2 separate regions of the Homo sapiens genome follow, and region 1 is linked to region 2. Evidence: promoter capture Hi-C in 16 types of primary human blood cells and fetal thymus (Javierre and others, 2016). All regions are on one chromosome and are shown on one strand. Each heading gives the region's core, a stretch centred on a gene start or on the middle of the fragment in contact. The rest is flanking DNA. Distances are from core to core; before and after follow the strand shown. Region 1 overlaps USP42 (ubiquitin specific peptidase 42). Region 2 holds the start of ANKRD61 (ankyrin repeat domain 61).

Region 1 (3,309 bases), core at 585-3,084, 110 kb after region 2:
TTCATTGTCTGTTTTGTTGGTACCCGTGGTTGTGAGGGGATACAGGGAGAGCCTGTATAATCTGAAATCCAAAGAGGACTTCCTGCTAGACTTTGCCAGTTTTCACCAAAGTTCATTTTGTCTTGTTTGTTTGTTTTCTGATTGGTAGTACACTGAATTTTCCCATTTTCTTCCCACTTTCTGAAGATTGAAAGTGGTCAAAAACTAAATAGCATGCAAGAGAAATAAACGATCCATTCCTGAATTATTAAAATTAAATAATCGGCCGAGTGTGGTGGCTCACGCCCGTAATCCCAGCACTTTAGAAGGCCTAGTTGGGCATATCACTTCAAGCCGGGAGTTTGAGACCACTCTGGCGAACGTGGCAAAGCCCTGTTTCTACTAAAAATACTAAAATTAGCTGGGTGTGGTGGCAGGCACTTGTAATCCTAGCTACTCGGGAGGCTGAGGCAGGAGAATCGCTTGAACCTAGGAGGCAGAGGTTGCAGTGAGCCGAGATTGTGCCACTGCACTCCAGCCTGGGCAACAGAGTCAGATTCTGTCTCAAAAAAAAAAAAATTATGTTCAGAGTTGTCATTTTGTTAGTCTGTCCTTTGATGGGTTTGAAGAATTCACTTAATATAGATCCTGACTTGTTAAAAGAAAATAATAAATGCAGCAGGATGGCCTTAAATACACTTAGATTCCGCTATCCTCCCGGTTAACCATGCCCTTTGAAAGGTGGCTAGGCCAGGTGCAGTGGCTCATGCCTATAATTCTAGCACTTTGGGAGGCCAAGCTGGGTGGATCACGAGGTCAGGCGTTCAAGACCAGCCTAGCCAAGATGGTGAAACCCCTGTCTCTACTAAAAATACAAAAATTAGCTGGGCGTGGTGGCGCACCTGTAATCCCGGCTACTCGGGAGGCTGAGGCAGGACAATCACTTGAACCCGGGAGGCGGAGCTTCCAGTGAGCTGAGATCGTGTCACTGCACTCCAGCCTGGGTGATAGAGTGGCACGCCATCTCAAAAAAAAAAAAAAGATGGCTAAATGCACTAGGTTTTTTAAATGCATTAGGTTTTTGCTAGAATATCACAGGGCTCAGGTGTTCTGTGGGTCTCCCCTCCTAGGAAGCTCTAAGTACCCTCTACCTGAATATGTGGAATGATCTGTGCCCTCGGAAATGTTTCTCCTGTTTCCATTTCCTTCTAGGATGTGAAATACCCTGAGTATCTTGATATTCGGCCATATATGTCTCAACCCAACGGAGAGCCAATTGTCTACGTCTTGTATGCAGTGCTGGTCCACACTGGTTTTAATTGCCATGCTGGCCATTACTTCTGCTACATAAAAGTAAGCTGTGCAGATTTGCTATTAACTATTGTTACATACATGCTATAAGACAGCAGTAGCATTCTTGGGGTAGGGAGAGGTGGAACTTTTACAGTTAAAATGTGAATACCCGAGGTAAAAATATTTCTCTTGGCCGGGCGCAGTGGCTTACTCCTGTAATCCCTACACTTTGGGAGACTGAGGCTGGGGGATCACTTGAGGTCAGGAGTTCAAGACCAACCTGGCCAACAGGGTGAAACCCCGCCTCTATTAAAAATACAAAAATTATCTGCGTGTGGTGGCACCTGCCAGTAATCCCAGCAGCTCCGGAGGCTGAGGCAGGAGAATCGCTTGAACCCAGGAGGTGGAGATTGCAAGATCACGCCACTGCACTCCAGCCTGGGTGACAGAGTGAGACTCCATCTCAAAAAAAAAGAAAGAAATATTTCTCTTGACTATGTTCCATGTTTAATTAAATCTAATCTCTCTCTTTTATTGGCTCTCATTTATAGGCTAGCAATGGCCTCTGGTATCAAATGAATGACTCCATTGTATCTACCAGTGATATTAGATCGGTACTCAGCCAACAAGCCTATGTGCTCTTTTATATCAGGTATTGTCATGAAAACAAATTGCCAGATTTTCTGGTATGTCATTTCTTCTTGTCTTATCAACATGTTTGAATTCAATATTCAGTGTTTTAAAAAAAAAAAAAAACCCAGCAGCTTAAAGATCAACTCTAGCCTGGGCATGGTGCCTCACGCCTATAATCCTAGCACTTTGGGCGGCCAAGATGGAAGGATCACTTGAGCCCAGGAGTTCGAGACCGACCAGCCTGGGCAACATAGTGAGACCACATGTCTACAAAATACGAAAAAATTAGCCAGGTGTGGTGTTGTGGGCCTGTGGTCTTATCTGCTCCGAAAGTTGAGGTGGGAGGATTACCTGAGCCTGGGGAGGCCGAGGCTGCAGTAAGCCATGATTGAGCCACTGCATTCCAGCCTGAGTGACAGAGCAAGACTGTCTCAAAAAAAAACCAAAAACCATCAACTCTGCCATGTGCCTGGAGAGTAAGAAAGGTAGTGTCTGAGCGGGATGATGAGTTTGCTCCGCATCGCACTCTGTGGCCATGAGCACTGAAGGTGCAGCTGCAGGGAGAGGTGGTGGCTGACAAGGGTGGGCTTCTGCTGCGGGCAGTAATGGAGTGGGCCAGGAGCCACAGGACAATGAGTGGAGACCTCAGGAAGGGACCTCTGAGCACCTGGCGTGGTCACAGCCAGCACCTCCCAACCTGGAGCACAGGTCAGTTGCCTTCCAGGCCAAGGCCAGCACCCGCACCCAGCTCTGTCCTGTTGTGGCTGCATACGCTTTTCACTCACTCACTCGCTCCATTTTTGGAAAAAATGTTTGATAGCTGAAAATCAAGAATATTCTCAAATGTCCAACTGGCAGAATGCTCATGTCTGCACATTGAAATATTAAACACTGGCATTGGATTTCGGCAGTTGGGCTGAAGCACAGATGATGATCAGAGGAGGCCTCAGGCCAAGTTGAGGGGTAGGATTTTGTTTCTAACTTTTTTGGACACTAGATTTTCCACAGTGGCATATATTTATAATTAGAAAAATATAAGCCTGGGCAACAAAGCGAGACCCCATTTCTACAGAAAATAAAAAAATGAGCCAGGCGTGGTGGTGCATGTCTGTGGTCCCAGCTACTCAGGAGGCTGAGGCAGGAGGGCAAGGCCACAGTGAGCAATGGCTGTTCCTCTGCAGTCCAGCCTGGGCGACGCAGCAAGACCCTGTCTCAAAAAAAGGAAAATATAAATAAACAGAAAAGAAATACCTTTCAGATGAAACAGCATCTTCAGAAAACACAGTTTAAAGAACGTCATTTACCCAGTTATCCTTGTTGTCTCCTGATCTGAGTGCCTGACATTAGCCTGAAGGAGGGGATGTGTATAGCTCCATACTGTGTAGCATAAACATGCTATTTTTT
Region 2 (3,822 bases), core at 656-3,155:
CAACAAGAGCAAAACCCTGTCTCAAAAAAAAAAAAACCTCAACATTCAACCATTCCCCAGGCCAGCTGCATCAGAACTCCTGCGGGTGAACGCAAGCATCAGTATTATTAAAAGTCCCAAGGCTATTCTAAATTTGGAGAATATTAATGTAGAGCATGCTTTGTACACAAGTGCTTCCCAACCCTTACTGCACATCATTACCCAAGAAGCTCTTAGAAATGACTGTCCTCGGCCGGGCACGGTGGCTCACACCTGTAATCTCAGCACTTTAGGAGGCTGAGGCGGGCAAATCGCCTGAGGTCAGGAGTTCAAGACCAGGCTGGCCAACATGGTGAAACCCCATCTCTACTAAAAATACAAAAATTAGCCAGGTGTGGTGGTGCATGCCTGTAATCCCAGCTACTCGGGAGGCTGAGGCAGAATTGCTTGAACCTGGGAGGCAGAGGTTGCAGTGAGACGAGATCGCATCACTGCACTCCAGCCTGGGAAACAGAGTGAGACTCTGTCTCAAAAAAAAGAAAAGAAAAGAAACGACTGTCCTGTCGAGTCCAGAGACGTGATTTTCTATGTGTGAGAAAACATTTTAAATGGCTTTTTCAAGGCATGATAAATCTAAGCACCGGCAGCCAGCCTGCAAATGTAACAAACCACATGGCTCATCCACCTGGAAGATCACAATAAGTGAACAGGATGTAGAGGAGTCAGCCCATAAAAGGGAAGAAAGTTTCATTACTGGGAAATCCAAACTTAAGCGGGAAAGGGACCAGGGTATAACCTTCTAAGGGGATAATGCAACTTAGGCGACGTCCGGGAAGATCGTAACCCTGTAGTCCTTGACCAGTGAGGAACTGAGGTAGGGTCTTGCATGCTAGGAGATAAATCACCTGTTGTAACTGCCCTGGGTGTACCTGCCTACCAGACACGTGACCTTGCAAGAGGGCTATTAAAAGTCTCACTTTCACTGTTCTTTGTGCCTCTAAGTTCACTCTTTGGGTTTGGACGGGTGAGCATGTTTCTCGCACTACGAAAAAACTGATTTTTTTCTTTAAGACAGAGTCTTGCTGTGTCGCCAGGCTGGAGTGCAGTGGTGCCATCTCGGCTCACTGTAACCTCCACCTCTCAGGTTCAAACAATTCTCCTGCCTCAACCTCCTGAGTAGCTGGGACTACAGGCGCACGCCACCACAGCCAGCTACTTTTTGTATTTTTAGTAGCGACAGGGTTTCACCATGTTGGCCAGTATGGTCTTGATCTCTTGACCTCATGTTCTGCCCGCCCTGGCCTCTCAAAGTGCTGGGATTACAGGCATGAGCGACCGCACCCAGCCAACTTTGATATTTTTTAAAAGCTCCCAGATAACTCATATGTATTAGCCAGGGTTGGGAACTAATAGATCACACTAAATGGCTTTATTTAAGCAAAGAGTACAGACCCAAAACATCTCCCAAACTATTCCTATGCCGGAGAAAAACTGAACCCATAATGGGGAGAGGGAAGATTCTATTATAATAAAAACTAAAAAATAACTTAAGGTTAAAAGTTTTCTTACTTTAAAAGTAATAATTTTAACTTTGTATTTTAATGTATAAATTCCTCTGTTTTAGCTTTGATCATTGTTTCAGCTACACTTGAACTGGAGAGAAATCAGAAATAAAGGTGTAAGATGATAGCTTGAATATGTTTTTATGATAGAGTAGAAAACCCTAAAAACTGCTGACATTTGACATTCTATGATCAAGGAACAAAGTCTGGACGCTTGGTTCCAAACTGATGGATTGCCTTCACAGATCCAATTCTCGACAAATTCTAGAACAGTTCTAGAACTGAACTGAAAGAATCATCACAAAGAGACTGAAACTGACCAATTCCATAACAACATTTTCCCCTGAAGTCTTAAGTTTTTCTCATGGGGAATATAACCAGGAAAGGAAGCAGAGACCTGGTGGTTGACAGTGCCAAGTCCCTGGAAGATGGCCCATCTGCAGCACTTCACTCGAAACTCTATGAAGCCATCATGAGAGAAGACTGCACTACGATCGAGGTACTCCTGAGAAATCACCCTGTCAACCAGCCCATCACCATTCTGCCCAACTCCGCCAGCAACAGATTACTTCTGACCCAGGTACCCTCTTTTCTGCTCAGTCACTTCTGGAAAAAAGTCAGGCTGCTTAGAAAGAAGCATGATCTAAAGCTGGTGAACCCACTAAGCTCACGGCCCTTATGAGAATGAGACACGACTCCAGCTCACTCCACACACACTGCAGTGCTCCCCAAAGCCTGCAAAGCCTCCCCTACACATGTCACACACAAACCAACATGAGAAAACACCAGACCCTGTGTGACTGGAAGACCATTCATGTCATCTCTCAAACATACCCACAGTGATGATCTCCATGTGGTCAAATTAGTTTTTCCCTTTTTTGGCCAGACGCAGTAGCTCATGCCTGTAATCCCAGCACTTTGGAAGGCTGAGGTGGGTGGATCACCTGAGGTCAGGAGTTCGAGACCAGCCTGGCCAGCAGGGCAAAACCCCGTCTCTACTAAAAATACAAAAATTAGCCGGGCTTGGTGGCAGGAGCCTGTAATCTCAGCTACTCGGACGGCTGAGGCAGGAGAATTGCTTGAACCCAGGAGGCAGAGGTTGCAGTGAGCCAAGATCGTACCACTGCACTCTCTAGCCTGGATGACAGAGCAAGACTCCATCTCAAACAAACAAACAAAAAATAGTTTTTCCCTTTTTAATATATACATTTTCATTTTCTAAATTTTTATACAATGATTATTACTTTTACAATTAAATTCAAAAAGGAAGTCACCCTCCCTTGTACCCTACTGTCTTATCTTGCAGCCACGGTGTGAAACCACTACTTACACGTGTGTATTTTAAGAGCTGGCACAAACAGCTCTGCTAATCATAGACAGAACATATGCTGCGTTATATTTGAAAACCCTGAAGATTCAGGTTTTACTGCTGATAATACGACTTTGGCAACGACACAGCACCTACTTGTCCATCACCCTGTGGGTTAATTTAAGGAATAAGTGACTTCATAGCAAGTACCCTTAATATCACACCACAGGCTCTTCTGAAGAATCAACTTTCAAAAATTTCCAAAGCTTTTGAGTGTTATTTCTGTTGCCTCAGTAAATGTGCATTTCTGTGAAACACAGATTTTATAGGATGGAATTCACTGAATTTTGATCATTTAAAACAGGTAGTAGAAAGGAAACTTTCAATGCACATACCAGAAAAAGAGTGAGCCAATGAGACACTAAATAAATGTATTGCCTTTGAAACGGCAAGCTAACACAAACAGTATTTTTAACTACACAGGGCCACTTGTAATGTGTTTTGTTTTCCCTCCAAAGCCGACAGAGTCTATCATCCCCATCCATCTGGCTGCCAAGTACCACAAGGCCCAGAGTCTGCTCTGCCTGTTACGGCACGGTGCTGACCCAGAAGTCAGGTAAGTTAACTCCACCGAAAATCATTTCTTTTTTTTTCTTTTTTGTTTTGAGGCAGGGGTCTCGCTCTGTTGCCCAGGCTGGAGTGCAATGGCACAATCTCGCCTCACTGCAACCTCTACTTCCTGGGTTCAAGAGCTTCTCCCACCTCAGCCTCCCGAGTAGCTGGGATTACAGGTGTGCGTCACCATGCCCAGCTAACATTTGTATTTTTAGTAGAGACAGGGTTTCACCATGTTGGCCAGGCTGGTCTTGAACTCCTGGCCTCAAGTGATCCACCTGCCTCGGCCTCCCAAAGTGCTGGGATTAACAGCCCTCAGCCACAGCACCCAGCTTCACTGACAATCATTTCTAAGTG

The links. Contacts are between HindIII fragments. The CHiCAGO score rates a contact against its expected background, and 5 or more counts as called.
Region 1: a fragment that was not itself captured here is called in contact with the fragment with the promoter of ANKRD61 in region 2 in 2 of 17 cell types (M1 macrophages and endothelial precursors); the score reaches 6.1 in M1 macrophages.

Annotation. Positions count from the first base shown.
Region 1 is chr7:6,144,325-6,147,633 of GRCh38, forward strand. It overlaps USP42 (ubiquitin specific peptidase 42), which reads left to right. Exons shown (of 18, transcript NM_032172.3): 10 at 1,192-1,332; 11 at 1,824-1,924. Among named protein-coding and RNA genes, the nearest start is that of USP42, 41 kb to the left of the region's middle. The HindIII fragment of the contact is 3,832 bases long and covers 1-3,309 here.
Region 2 is chr7:6,029,471-6,033,292 of GRCh38, forward strand. It overlaps ANKRD61 (ankyrin repeat domain 61), which reads left to right and starts at 1,906. Exons shown (of 3, transcript NM_001271700.2): 1 at 1,906-2,121; 2 at 3,369-3,466. The coding sequence starts at 1,906. All of the region lies in intron 11 of EIF2AK1 (eukaryotic translation initiation factor 2 alpha kinase 1), which reads right to left. The HindIII fragment of the contact is 4,913 bases long and covers 1-3,114 here.